Regions from separate parts of the Homo sapiens genome. Here regions 2, 3, 4 and 5 are each linked to region 1. Evidence: promoter capture Hi-C in 16 types of primary human blood cells and fetal thymus (Javierre and others, 2016). All regions are on one chromosome and are shown on one strand. The core of a region is centred on a gene start or on the middle of the fragment in contact, and the rest is flanking DNA. Distances in the headings are between cores, read along the strand shown.

Region 1 (2,700 bases), core at 75-2,574:
AAATATTTCCCTTTACATAGGCAGTAAATCTGACCCATTGAGAACATTTTCCTCGGAATTAGCTGTCTCCCTCCCCCTCCTCCACTTTACCAAAACCCACCTACAGGATGTCCTGGAAGAAAGGAGTCAGAGGGGTCCTCTTTATGTCCCAAGTATTGGCCTGTCCTGTTATTGGAATGCAAGGGTTATCTGGGCTTACCTACAGAGCCCACCCTGAATACATGTGTTTTCTTTTTTTTCTTTTTTTAGACGGAGTCTTGCTCTGTTGCCCAGGATGGAGTGCAGTGGTGCGATCTTGGCTCACCACAACCTCAGCCTCCCGGGTTCAAGCGAATCTCCTGCCTCAGCCTCCCGAGTAGCTGGGAATACAGGCACATGCCACCATGCCCGGTTAATTTTTGTATTTTTAGTAGAGACGGGGTTTCACTGTTGGCCAGGAGGTCTCGAACTCCTGACCTCGTGATCTGCCCGTCTCGGCCTCCCAAAGTGCTAGGATTACAGGTGTGAGCCACCACGCCTGGCCTTCTTTCTTTTTTTTTTTTCCAGACAGGGTCTCGCTCTGTTGCCCAGGCTGGAGTGCAGTGGCACGATCACAGCTCTCATAGCTTACTGCAGCCTCGACCTCCTTGGGCTCAGGCGATCCTCCAATGTCAGCCTCCCTAGCAGCTGGGACCACAGGCACACGCCACCATGTGCGGCAAATTTTAAAATTTTTTTTGTAGAGACGGGGGTCTCCCTATGTTGCCCAGGGTCGTCCCAGACGCCTGGCCTCAAGTGATCCTCCCGCCTTGGCCTCCCAAAGTGTCGGGATTACAGGCGTGAGCCACCGTGCCCGGCCTTGTTTCTTTTTCTCTGCAATGGCGACTTCACGACCTACAAGTCCAAATGTGTCCCATAACACATCAAGGAACTTCTGGCATCTCCTATCGATCCTGTACGGGCTTCTCAGACTATGGGGATTTTCTAGGCTTGGTTTGCCAAGGCCAAAGGGCTACAGAGTAACCCCGTCCCCACATGTATTCAGCCGACTCCATGCCAGGCGTTTTACAGATCCCGAGACCACCCCTAAGCAAGACCCCTAGCCGGAGTCGCCCCTCCGTCCCGAGACTCCGCGCCCCTCAATGCGTCACCCTTCTGAGCGCCCGGCCTATCTGGCCCCGGAGCGCAGCCTGTAACGCTCTCAGCCCCGGAAGCCTCCTGTTACGCGCCGTGCCCCCGGAGGTGCGGCCGCTGGGACCAGCGCCGGCCCTGGCTCCATTCGGGTCGCCCAGCCCGGCCAGGACTGGCCTCCCGCTTCCAGCCGCTGCCGGCACCCTCAGCCGTCTGGCCTCCCGCGGAAAGGCGGGCGCGAGGCATCCTGGGAGTCGCAGTCGGCGGTCGACTCACCCGCCCTCACAGAGGAGGTGGGGACGCCATGAAGAACTACAGCTCCCAGGGAGCCGCGCGCGGCAGTTGGCGGGGCCGGGCTTCTGCCGGCGGCGGGCACGTTGCTAGGAGCTGCCCCAACGCCTCTCCGGGAAGAGGGCGCCAGGCTCAAAGGCCCTCTTGGGAACTGCCGGGAAGCTTAAAAGTTCCTCCTGCCCACTTCTGAGGGCTGACACGTGGCCGACGCGGAGGCGTGAGAAATGTGTTGATATTGGGAGGTTGACGGGTGAATCCACAAATTCACCGGTGTTTATTCCACACCCCAAAGCTTGAGGGAAGTGACTGACCTGTTTAATGATCCAATCAAAGCTGTATAGCCAGAATGAAACCCAATACTGTCGCCCCACAAAAAGATTAAGTCACATTTTTTCTAGTATGTGCTAATTATGAATTTTATTAAGGTTTATTCAATGTCACAGAGGAAAGAACGGTTTGTAGTTTTGCTTACCCGCAGTGCTGGCAGGTCACAGCTGTCCAACCATGATCCATTCACATGCTCTGGCCCCGTGCCCCTCGTCCTCCCACCCCTACCCCACAGGACACCATTAAGCCAGGGCTGGGTAACAACATATGCTCAATGCATCTTCTCAGGTGAGAACCAAACTCGAGCCACAACAGCAAAGGGGGAAAAAGGTAGCAAAGTAATTATGTGCTCCCAAGGCAGTCATTTAGTTGAATCCATAACTGGAAATAAAAAGGCATTTATGAAGTGTAGTCCGCAGTCTGAATGTGGAAGGTGGAAGATCACACATTTACTAAGAAACACTCAAAACATATTTTGGTTCAGAATTCTAAAAAATCCCGAATTTTCCATGATCTTCCCAAGACAACCAATGACCCACTTAAATTTAAGGCAAAAACACCCTTGAATCTAGGAATGTGCACATATGCAACAGCTAACATCTGGTAACTCTAATAATGTTCCTTATATGTTTCTGTGTTTACTATCATGAACCATAGGAAGAAGTACTGGAAAATTTAGTAAGTGTGGACAGTTAAAAACACTGGCCCGGCACGGTGGCTCACGCCTGTAATCCCAGCACTTTGGGAGGCCGAGGTGGGTGGATCACGAGGTCAGGAGTTCAAGACCAGCCTGGCCAACTTGGTGAAACCCCTGTCTCTACTAAAAATACAAAAAAACTAGACAGGCATGGTGGCAGGCGCTGTAATCCCAGCTTCTCAGGAGGCTGAGGCAGAGAATTGCTTGAACCCGGGAGGCAGAGGTTGCAGTGAGCCAAGATTTCGCCACTGCACTCTACCCTGGGTGAAAGAGCA
Region 2 (2,700 bases), core at 92-2,591, 260 kb after region 1:
GAATGCCTTAAGTGAAACTCTTTAAAGCCCTAAACCATTTTAAAAGTATGAATATTCATCCTCTAGTTCTTTTACTGTCAGGTTGCTGAAAAGCAGGCCACTTCCATACTGAATCTCATACCATTTCGAATCAACTGTTTCTAAAGGTGAATTACTGCATGTTGGCACCAAGAGGACCGAGCTCCCTGACTCTCCTCCTCCCCATGCTTACTCTGGTTTTCTGTCTTTCTCCGCAAGCCCCCAGACACTTCCTGGCACACATCCCAACCCCAGCGAGCAGACCCTACCTTTCCTGTAGTTCACTAAAAAATTAAAACCATTATTTTGTGAACTCCCTTAATTTTCCTACTTCTAAATATTCTTCTAAACCTATTTCCTTCCTCTACTTAGAAGTATTTCCACCTCTATTTTTAAAGAAAATTAAAATACTTTTCATTTAAAAATGAAAACACGTTCACTGGAAAAAATTCAAACAACATAGAAGAATATGAAGAGCCGGGCACAGTGGCTCACACCTGTAATCCCAGCACTTTGGGAGGCTGAGGCAGGAGGATTGTTTGAGCCCAAGAGTTCAAGACCAGCCTTGGCAACATAGTGAGACCCTAGTCTCTACAAAAAAAAAAAAAAAAAGAGAAAAAGAAAAAATTTTAAATTAGCTGTGCATGGTGTCATGTATCTGTAGTCCCAGCTACCAGGAAGGCTGAGGCAGGAGGACTGCTTGAGCCCAGGAGTTCCAGGTTACAGTGAGCTATGATTGCACCACTGCACTCCAGCTTGGGTGACAGAACAAGCTTATTTCTAAAAAAAAAATAAAGAAAATTTTAGAAAATATGAATTAAGAAGTGAATACCCCCCTTCTTGATATATCCCAAGAGTTACCATTGTTAACAGTTCAAAATGCATTGTAATAGTATATTTGTGTAGCTATAAATATATGTACATAATGCACACACATACATATATTATTTTTATCCGAAATGAAATCAGACTCTACATTATACACTGCAACTTGCTTTATTCAGTAAGTCATGTGGTTGTGGACATATTGCCATCTCAGTGGACGCAGATCTATCTAATTTTTGCTGAATAACAGTTCATGGCATAGGCACATTATAATTTATTTAACCATTCCACTATAATGGCCATTAGATATTTTCTAATTTTGCACTACTACAAGTAATGCTACAATATACATTGTAAATAGGAATCATTTCACACTCTTCAAAATATTTCTGTAGGAGAGATTCGGAGAGGTGAAACAGTTGGGCCAAAGGGTACGCACAGCTCAAAATTTAATCAATATTTCCAGGCTAAAGGACAAAAAAAAATTGTAGTAAAATTATAAAGGAAGGAAGAAGGAAAGAAGATAGCATGCAAAAGGCAAATAACCCAATCTCAGTTTCTCTCTCTCTCTCTCTCACACACACACACACACACACACACACACACACACACACACACGTGCATGAGAAAGACACCCGTTCCCACCATGGGCTTTAGGCCTGTAGGGCAGTTAAGTGCCAGGTCCTTGTGATGTGACCTATTAGGCCAGTTACTCCAAGTCCAAGGCACAAATAAATCTCCAAACATAACACGTGCACAGCATCTGGGGTAAGTGGTGGCCTCTCACAGAGGCTGTTCCTTGGAGTGTCCTTTGCCTCAACTCACACTGCTGCAATTCTCTAATCTGCACTGCATTCATTTTATTTTCTGTTTTTTAGACACATTTTAGTCTGATCACACATGGTCCAAGAACACACAAGTCATAAATCAAATGTAATCAGATGTTAAAGATGGGTCTTCAAAGATTACAGCAATGATGCCACACTTGCCTGTGAGCTCTCTGACATAAAATCACGTCCACACCTCATGTGTGGACCACATCATTCAGCAAAGCTTCCTTAACTGTGAGCTATTAGAGCGCTACTATTTTTTTTTTCAGGCTCTGAATAGTTCTAGGGATCTCACCAGGGGTTGGAGGAAGCAGCTCAGCCTTGGCATAGTACCAAAAAGTGGCCAATCGAGGCTTCAAACAAGTCACAACAATGATCATCAGCCCTGGGGCCTTCTCTGCAAGGTTATAAATTGGTCCATGGTTCTAGGGTAGAAAGTCTGCACCATGTTTATTTGCAATGCTGTTAATCCTATTCAGTTATTTCATGTATTTTTTCTTAAAATAAATTACTTCCTAACTGGTCTTCTTATTTTCTGTCTCTCTGATTCATTACCTATACTGTGAATTAATTTATAGAATTAATTTTCTAAAATGCAAATTAGATTGTAATAGTTATCTTTTTTTTTGAGAGAGGGTCTCGTCCAGCCCAGGCTGGAGTGCAGTGGCATGATCTCCGCTCGCTGCAACCTCCGCCTTCTGGGTTCAAGCGATTCTTATGCCTCAGCCTCCCAAGCGGCTGGGATTACAGGCATGCACCACCATGCCTGGCTAATTTTTGTATTTTTAGTAGAGACAGGGTTTCGCCATGTTGGCCAGGCTGGTCTCAAACTCCTGGCCTCAAGCAATCCACCCACCTCAGTCTCCCAAAATGCTGCGACTACAGGCGTCAGCCATCAGGTCCCGCCATCATTTTTTGAGTCCTTAAAATATTCCTGCAAGGTAATTTTATAGATGGGGAAATTGAGACTCACTGATTGGCCATCGTCTTAACCAACATGACAAAGTCAGTCAGTGGCAAAGCCATT
Region 3 (2,700 bases), core at 122-2,621, 390 kb after region 1:
TACCAGAGAAAAACTAAATAAGATCTCTTTTGAGGACAATGGGGTGTTTGCTGGTGGTTCCTCACTTCTTCCTGGATATACTGAAGCAGGAAAGGTGAGGCTCTAAGGTTGTCCACAGGAAAGCTGAAAAAGCCTTGTATTTCCTTTTGATGAAGATCCATAGTGATAATGTGAGTTAAACCTGAAATTTTAAAACAAAAAATTACAAAGTTCACCCCTACAGGTAAATGGCTACAGTGGACCTAAACTAGATGCTCAACTCCTGCTTCCTACCAGCAGACTGAAGACGGGGTACTGTGATTAAGCACTGCAGTCACAGGCTTGATTGTTAACCTTAATAAAGCCTTAATGTAGAGAAGGCTACAACCTTCCACATGGACAAAGAACTAAAGCTAAGAAAGTGGGAATTATTGACTTTTGGCTTGGTCCAGAAAATTGAGAAAAGAATAATGTGGCAGAAGCAAAAATATGAATATGGAATTAATACCGAAGAGATGGAAAAAACAGTAAGGCCTTGATTACAGAATCTTAAAAGAAAGGATAAAGAACTGTAGCGAAGGCAAAAAGTAGCAAGAACACAAACGCAAAGTAATATACATATTAGAAGAAAAGAAACTCATATAACACAAAGATATTGAAGCTTAGAATAATTTCTGTATGTAACAAAGAATGTTTCAAGTATTCTTATAGAAAAACAATGAAGAGATACTCTTATAATCAAGAGTACTGAAGAGGAAAAGGTACATATATATAAACACATTGCAAATGGTCAAAGGTCACAGCAAAACTTCCAGGGTGTAGAACCAGTATTACTTGTTCTTTCCAGAAACACTATAGTTTTTTGGAGAGGATGAAATTCACATACAGTTGACCATCTGGATCTATGGGTTCCACGTGTGGATTCAACGAAACACAGACTGAAAAGGTAGTTAGGCCTACAATGGTTGTGTCTGTACTGAGCAGGTATGAAACTTTTTTCTCATCATTATTCCCTAAACAAGACAGCATAACAACAATTTATATAGTGTTTATATGGTATTAGGTATTTATAAATAATCTACAGATGACTGTGTTGGTTATATGCAAATACTATGGCATTTTATATGGAAGACTTGAGTATCTTTGGGTTTTTGTATCTGCTGAGGAGCCGGGGAAGCGGGAGATGGGTTCCTGGAACCAATCCTATAAGGACATTGAGGGAGGACCATACATTTCTTTCCGAGGACCCAAATATACGTTAAAGTTTTAGAACAGACATCAGATGAATAGAAACCCAATTGTAAAATATTACATTGATTTACAGGCCAGAAAGCGTGCCCCCGCCACACAAGGAGAATAAAGCAATGAAAATGAGCCACTATGTAGAAAGGCAAGGGTGGGGGAGAGGGAGTAAAAGAAAATCCAGCTTGAATACTATGAACAAAAATGGAATTTAGCTAACAAAGCAGATATAGAAATCTAGACCTGAAGATCAAAAGATCACATAAGAATGCCAAGACTGCCAGCTAAGAATTTAGCGATGACAAGATGAAATAGAAAATATGTGACAGATGACAGAGAAGAGAAGACACTAAAGCAATGGTATTCTAAAGTAGGACAAAGCGAATAAGGGAAAAAAAAGAATTTCTAACCGAGCTCACATATCCTTAGCCAAAACTGTTCAAAAGGAAACAAACACTCAGATCCCAGATTGGATATCTGAGGTATGAGCTAAGTCCAACTAGGAAAGAGCCCTAAAGGATCATGCTGGAACCCCAGGGCCCCCGCGCACACTCACCTGCTTTCGCCAGCATGGATGCTAGCAGCTTGCACACAATGGAACCCCTCTTCCTCATCTTGCTCTGCTTGCTGTAGGGGAAGTAGGGGATGACCCCAATAATGTTCCTGGCACAGGCAGTCTTCAGTGCGTAAGCCATGATGAGCAACTCCATCACAGCTGTATTCACATCTCTGAAACAGTCAAAGTTTGTATTTGGGGATTAATTCCATGTATCAACCCTAGAAAAGATCTTGACTTTATCAACTTAACATGGGCTGCCCAGATGGGTGTTGTGGGAATTTTACCATCACACTAGCTTACAATGGCACCTCATGAAGGCAGGGGAAGCTTTCTGACTTTTTGTAGCTGAGTAAGCCCTAGCTTTCATCTGAGGTTACTCCTATTCACAGCACAGTTAACCCACCCTCACATTTGCCTGGGTCTCCTGTGTCATACCCCGTTACTGCAGTGACATCTGAAGCAACTGCTGGTGACCAGAGTTACCCAACACCTGCTGGCAGCCTCCCAGGGATTTGGGCTTAGGCCAGCTTGAATGCCAAGGGAAACCCAACTGCCCTTCCATTTAGCTGCCATTAACAGAAAGATTTGGTCTCTTTCCATTGAGTGTGGGGAGGTCTTGGAATATAATTTTTTTTTTTTTTTTTTGAGACGGAGTCTCGCTGTCGCCCAGGTTGGAGTGCAGTGGCGCGATCTCAGCTCACTGCAGGCTCCGCCCCCCGAGGTTCACGCCATTCTCCTGCCTCAGCCTCCCGAGTAGCTGGGACTACAGGCGCCCGCCACCTCGCCCGGCTAATTTTTTGTATTTTTAGTAGAGACGGGGTTTCACCATGTTAGCCAGGATGGTCTTCATCTCCTGACCTTTTGAGATGAAGTCTCACTCTGTCGCCCAGGCTGGACTGCAGTGGTGTGATCTCAGTTCA
Region 4 (2,700 bases), core at 96-2,595, 410 kb after region 1:
AGACCAACCTGGCTAACACAGTGAAACCCGTCTCTACTAAAAATACAAAAAATTAGCTGTGCGAGGTGGCGGGGGCCTGTAGTCCCAGCTACTCGGAAGGCTGAGGCAGGAGAATGGCGTGAACCCTGGGGGCGTAGCCTGCAGTGAGCCGAGATCGCGCCACTGCACTCCAGCCTGGGCGACAGCGAGACTCCGTCTCAAAACAAAAAACAAAAAACAAAAAACTAGCCAGGTGTGGTGTCGGGCATCTGTGATCCCAGCTACTTTCGAGGCTGAGGCAGGAGAATCGCTTGAACTTGGGACGTGGAGGTTGCAGTAAGCCGAGATGGCACCACTGCACTCCAGCCTGGGTGACACAAGACTGTCTCAAAATAAATAAAACAGATAAGATAAAACAAAATCTTACTGAGCGACAAGTAAAACAGGTAAGGGAAGTATTTATGAATATGTATCATTTATAGTAATTCAAAATCTTTCGGGAATTTGCCAGGAAAGAATCTAAAACAAACAAACAAAAAAAACCCTCACTGACTTTTAAAATGTGCCCTGCTCCCCTCTGCTCTCCCTCAAGGTCAGGTAGGGTAAATCTGAACCACTAGATACACACAGAAGCTTCGTTTAAAGTCAGTGTTTTCGTTGGCCTCAGAAAGAAAGACAAACAATCAGGGGTTAGAAATAGAAACTAGGTAGTAGACTGCAAAAGGATTGATTTGTTTTTTTAACATTCTTCCACTCTCCAAAACTCCAACTATTAAAAAAAAAAACAAGCAGAGCTGAAAAAAAAATGACTAAAGTTTTCCCTTTCTTCTACATTTCCCCCCAGAAGTTTAAGATATATCCCTGCAATCATTTGTCAACCCTAAAAAAGTAACGAAGTAACTCTATGAAAACTGTTTAAAATGTGAAAATGGCTTTAAATATTAAAAGACGAGCTATTCATTTTATGTCTTAGATTTCTAACAAGTGTATGTAGAAAGGGCATATAAGGCTCCTCCTTTATATCAGAGCTCTGGGATTCTCCAAAAGAGCCAACTAGAAAAGAGGCCATTTCACCGGGCGCGGTGGCTGAAGCCTGTAATCCCAGCACTTTGGGAGGCCGAGGCGGGCGGATCACGAGGTCAGAAGATCGAAACCATCCTGGCTAACACGGTGAAACCCAGTCTCTACTAAAAATACAAAAAATGAGCCGGGTGTGGTGGCGGGTGCCTGTAGTCCCAGCTACTTGGGAGGCTGGGGCAGGACAATGGCGTGAACCCGGGAGGCGGAGCTTGCAGTGAGCCGAGATCTCGCCACTGCACTCCAGCCTGGGTGACAGAGCGAGACTCCGTCTCAAAAAAAAAAAAAAAAAAAAAAAGAAAAGAAAAAGAAAAAGAAAAGAGGCCACTTAGTAAACAACTATTCAGAGGGCCACTATGAGCCCCTACTCTGCTAGAACCAGATACTACTTCTACATTATCCCGATCATACAATATTCTCAACCATGCCCATTTCACAGATGAGGTTCAGGGAAATCAAGTCTCTTGCCCACTGACACAGAGCTAGTAAGTGGCAAGGCTGGGAGGGCATCTCAGAGCTGTCAGACCCCAAAGGCGACTTAAGACCAGGGGCTTGGTTGGGTTAAAGACACAAATGACTGATCTTATCCCAAGCTGATTTACAAAGCAGGGTCAGGCCTGTCATTTCTACCACCAGCTCCGGCCCATCTGCCTCCCTGGAATTGCCTTCTTCGCACTGCCAGTCCCCACACCTTTGCTCTGCGACCGCACCTGCCGCGTCGGATCCCCCAACTCACAACCACGCCCGCGGGTCTCACTGCAGTGAGACTTGAGAGTGGCGGCGGTCAGATTCCCAGGTCAACTCCAGCCGTGGGAAAGGAAGCCAAGCCCTGAGCCCCTTTCCCCAAGACACGCACTCCGGGGCTCCAGAAAGCTCGGCCCGCCCCGGGGTGTGGGACTGCGGAGACGAAAGGCAGGCAGGCCGCGGACCCAGTCACGGGGCGGGGGGCTGAGGTCACCGAGAGTCCGCCCCAAGCCTCCCAGCTGCAAAACCGGGGAGCGGGGGGCGGTATCCGTCACCTCCAAGCTTTGTCCGGCTGGGAAGGCCCGCGCCTCCCGCCCCAGGTGCAGGAGGTGGGGCGGGTGGAGGGGAGCGGGTCCCTCCGGGCGCGAAGGAGAGCTAGGCGCCGCCGCCCCCGGCCCGGCCCTCCCACCGCCCCCTTACTCTGTGATGCGCTTGGCCAGCTCCGTGCAGGCGGCCGTGGAGTTGGCCGAGAAGACTCGGTAGCCGGTGCGAGCGGCGTTCATGGCCGGCGGGGGAACGGGGCGGGCGCGCGGGACGCGGAAAGCCGAGGACGCGGAGGGCGGGGGCAACAGCAGCAGCTTCTTGGGCATCGTCCGGCCCGCGGCGCGGTTACGACCGGCCCCGCGCGGGGCTGCACTCTGAGTGCTTCCGACTGCGAGACCCCGGTTTGGGTGGGGAAGGCGCTGAGAAACTCGGCGCAAGCGGGGAGAGCTCCGAGGTCCGTGCCCTTGCGCACCCCACACCACTGACTACAGCGGCCGAGCCTTCGCAGCGCCCGGCGCCGCCGCCTCAGAGCCAGAGGCAAGGCCACCGCCCCCTCCGGGCATCCGAAGAGCGTCGGCTAGAGCGCCCTCAGGCCGCCATCTCGGATGAGGGCAGGGAGCCTGGCGACTCTCTAAA
Region 5 (2,700 bases), core at 38-2,537, 350 kb after region 1:
TTAAAAAAAAAAAAAAAAAAAAAAAAAAAAAGGAATGACTGGGCCGGGCGTGGTGGATCACACCTGTAATCCCAGCACTTTGGGAGGCTGAGGTGGGAGGATCACCTGAGGTCAGGAGTTCCAGACAAGCCTGACCAACATGGTGAAACCCTGTCTCTACTAAAAATACTAAAATTAGCTGGGCATGAACATGCATGCCTGTAATCCCAGCTACTTGGGAGGCTGAGGCATGAGAATAGCTTGAACCCAGGGGGCAGAGGTTGCAGTGAGCCGAGATCGCATCATTGCACTCTAGCCTGGGCAACAGAGCGAGACTCCGTCTCAATTTAAAAAAAAAAAGGAGAATGTCTGAAGGGATCTGGCCGTCCCTTGCAATGACCTCTGGCCCCAGAAAATCCACAAACTGGACTCCAAGGCTGCCACAGATAATGAAAAGAGCAAGGCCGGGTGTGGTGGCTCACGCCTGTAATCCCAGCACTTTGGGAGGCCGAGGCAGGCAGATCACAAGGTCAGGAAATCGAGACCATCCTGGCTAACACGGTGAAACCCCATCTCTACTAAAAATACAAAAAATTAGCCGGGCGTGGTGGCGAGCACCTGTAGTCCCAGCTACTTGGGAGGCTGAGGCAGGAAAATGGCGTGAACCTGGGAGGTGGAGCTTGCAGTGAGCCGAGATTGCGCCACTGTACTCCAGCCTTGGCGACAGAGTGAGACTGTGTCTCAAAAAAAAAAAAAAAGAAAAAAAGAAAAGAGCAAAGCCCTCATTATTTGGCTCAGCTGAATCATAATAGCTTTGAGCATCAGTTTTTAAAAAAAATTTTTTTAGAGACAGGGTCTTGCCCTGTCACTCAGGCTAGAGTGCCATGGCGTGATCATAGCTTACTGCAGCCTCAAACTCAGGCTCAAGTGATCCTCCTGCCTCAGCCTCCCAAGTAGCTGAGACTACAGGCATGCACCACCATGTCTGGCTAATTTTTAAATTTTTTGTAGAGATAAGTCCTTGCTATGTTGCCCAGGCTGGTCTCGAGCTCCCGGGCTCAAGTGATCCTCCTGCCTTGGCCTCCCAAAGTGCTGGGATTATAGGCATGAGCCAGCGTGCCCAGCCTGAGCATCAGGTTTTAGATCCAGGAAATGAACACGATGATACCCAAGGTGCAGTTCCTATCTGATAAGATTGCAAAGATCCAATTAGATAATAATGTAAAAGAAAGAGCTATTTAATCCGTAAAATACAAATGGAAAGTGCTATTATTAGCATTAAAAGACAAAGTGGGGGCTGGGCACGGTGGCTCACGCCTGTAATCCCAGCACTTTGGGAGGTCAAGGTAGGCAGATCATCTGAGGTTGGGAGTTCAAGACCAGGCTGACCAACATGGAGAAACCCCATCTCTACTAATAATAATACAAATAATAATACAAAATTAGCCGGGCATGGTGGCACATGCCTGTAATCCCAGCTACTCGGGAGGCTGAGGCATGAGAATCGCTTGAACCTGGGAGGTGGAGGTTGAGTGAGCTGAGATGGTGCCACTGCACTCCAGCCAGGGCGACAAGAGCAAAACTCCATCTCAAAAAAAAAAAAAAGACAAAGTGGGTTGACTCTTCCTTACTTTTGCTTTCTCCTGCCAAACTTCTTTGGCTAGCGTCTTTACGGTCTTCAGCTGCTCCTGCAGTTCAGGAGGTATGGTCCTTTTGACTATGGAAAGCAGAAGCCTTATGATCAGAGGGGTTAGATCTCTAGTGGGCTCCCAATCTCCATTTCCAGCCCCTGTAACACTGAAGCTACCCTAGAGGACAGCAGGACCTATTACTTTATCCTGTGTCTCCTGGTGACTGGGAAAGGGAGGTGGGAAGAAGGGAGAGAGAGCTGTCCTTAGCCCATGAAACATCCACCTAATGCCTGACATCCTAAAGGGCTTTGGGACAACTGACTCCCGAATTCCAACCACTGCAAAAAATCTTAATTACTCTCTGGGCTTGGAGTTGGGAACAGGCAAATGTTAAGTTTTGTTTTGTTTGAGACAGGGTCTTGCTCTGTCACCCAGGCTGGAGTGCAGTGATCCATCACAGCTCACTGCAACCTCTGCCTCCCTGGCTCCAACAATCTTCCCACCTCAGCTTCCCAAGTAGCTGGGACTACAGGTGTGTGCCACCACGCCTGGCTAATTTTTTTTTTGTTTTTTTTGGTAGAGATAGAGTTTTGCCACATTGCCTAGGCTGGTCTCGAACTCGGCCTCAAGCTATCCACCCAGCTCTGCTTCCCAAGGTGCTGGGATTACAGGTGTGAGCCATTGCTCCCAGTCAAAATGTTAAGTTTAATTCTTCAACATTCTCTCCCGCCCACCTCCCAATGCTACTGCTCTCTATAACCAGACACTTTCCCCCACTGCTGTGCAGAGAGCCTGACAAAGCCACAAGAACCCGCTCCACTCCTCTCCTGGGGCTTAGTTCTCTCCTTTGCCCACCCATTTTTTTGGACTCTGAAGGCTGTGGGACATGCTCTGAATGACATGCTGTTTTCAGGGACTCAGGGAGATGTGTAGCAGCCAGGAGTTGAGGCCAGGGGAAGAAAAGGATGAAACCAACTGAAAACAGAGACAATGGTTTCTCCTCTATCGGCAAGCGGCACCCACCCATCTGTGCCAGCAGGAACTGGATCTTCTCCAAGTCGGTTTGGCCGGCCTGCTCCTCATCCAGATC

Evidence for each region. The method cuts DNA at HindIII sites, captures the fragments that hold promoters and counts their contacts. A CHiCAGO score of 5 or more calls a contact.
Region 2: a fragment that was not itself captured here is called in contact with the fragment with the promoter of FBF1 in region 1 in 1 of 17 cell types (endothelial precursors); the score reaches 5.9 in endothelial precursors.
Region 3: a contact is called between a fragment that was not itself captured here and the fragment with the promoter of FBF1 in region 1, in 4 of 17 cell types (M2 macrophages, activated CD4 T cells, total CD4 T cells and 1 more). The highest score is 5.8, in M2 macrophages.
Region 4: a fragment that was not itself captured here is called in contact with the fragment with the promoter of FBF1 in region 1 in 1 of 17 cell types (M0 macrophages); the score reaches 5.2 in M0 macrophages.
Region 5: a fragment that was not itself captured here is called in contact with the fragment with the promoter of FBF1 in region 1 in 7 of 17 cell types (endothelial precursors, M0 macrophages, naive CD8 T cells and 4 more); the score reaches 6.3 in endothelial precursors.

What each region holds. Positions count from the first base shown.
Region 1 is chr17:75,939,718-75,942,417 of GRCh38, forward strand. FBF1 (Fas binding factor 1) reads right to left here and starts at 1,325. Exons shown (of 30, transcript NM_001319193.2): 1 at 1,131-1,325. It overlaps ACOX1 (acyl-CoA oxidase 1), which reads right to left. Exons shown (of 14, transcript NM_004035.7): 14 at 1,790-2,700. RefSeq lists a silencer at 1,094-1,363 and an enhancer at 1,474-1,543. The HindIII fragment of the contact is 5,734 bases long and covers 1-1,561 here.
Region 2 is chr17:76,200,711-76,203,410 of GRCh38, forward strand. The region is part of intron 2 of RNF157 (ring finger protein 157); the gene reads right to left. It also overlaps the pseudogene ATP5MGP6. Among named protein-coding and RNA genes, the nearest start is that of RNF157, 38 kb to the right of the region's middle. The HindIII fragment of the contact is 1,105 bases long and covers 790-1,894 here.
Region 3 is chr17:76,330,486-76,333,185 of GRCh38, forward strand. It overlaps PRPSAP1 (phosphoribosyl pyrophosphate synthetase associated protein 1), which reads right to left. Exons shown (of 10, transcript NM_002766.3): 4 at 1,778-1,950; 5 at 66-181. Among named protein-coding and RNA genes, the nearest start is that of PRPSAP1, 22 kb to the right of the region's middle. The HindIII fragment of the contact is 1,467 bases long and covers 639-2,105 here.
Region 4 is chr17:76,351,314-76,354,013 of GRCh38, forward strand. It overlaps PRPSAP1 (phosphoribosyl pyrophosphate synthetase associated protein 1), which reads right to left and starts at 2,603. Exons shown (of 10, transcript NM_002766.3): 1 at 2,221-2,603. The coding sequence starts at 2,390. RefSeq lists enhancers at 1-120, 1,660-1,719, 2,569-2,700, 2,680-2,700 and a silencer at 2,080-2,399. The HindIII fragment of the contact is 1,470 bases long and covers 611-2,080 here.
Region 5 is chr17:76,288,382-76,291,081 of GRCh38, forward strand. It overlaps QRICH2 (glutamine rich 2), which reads right to left. Exons shown (of 19, transcript NM_001388453.1): 4 at 2,634-2,700; 5 at 1,611-1,696. Among named protein-coding and RNA genes, the nearest start is that of QRICH2, 19 kb to the right of the region's middle. The HindIII fragment of the contact is 4,189 bases long and covers 1-2,700 here.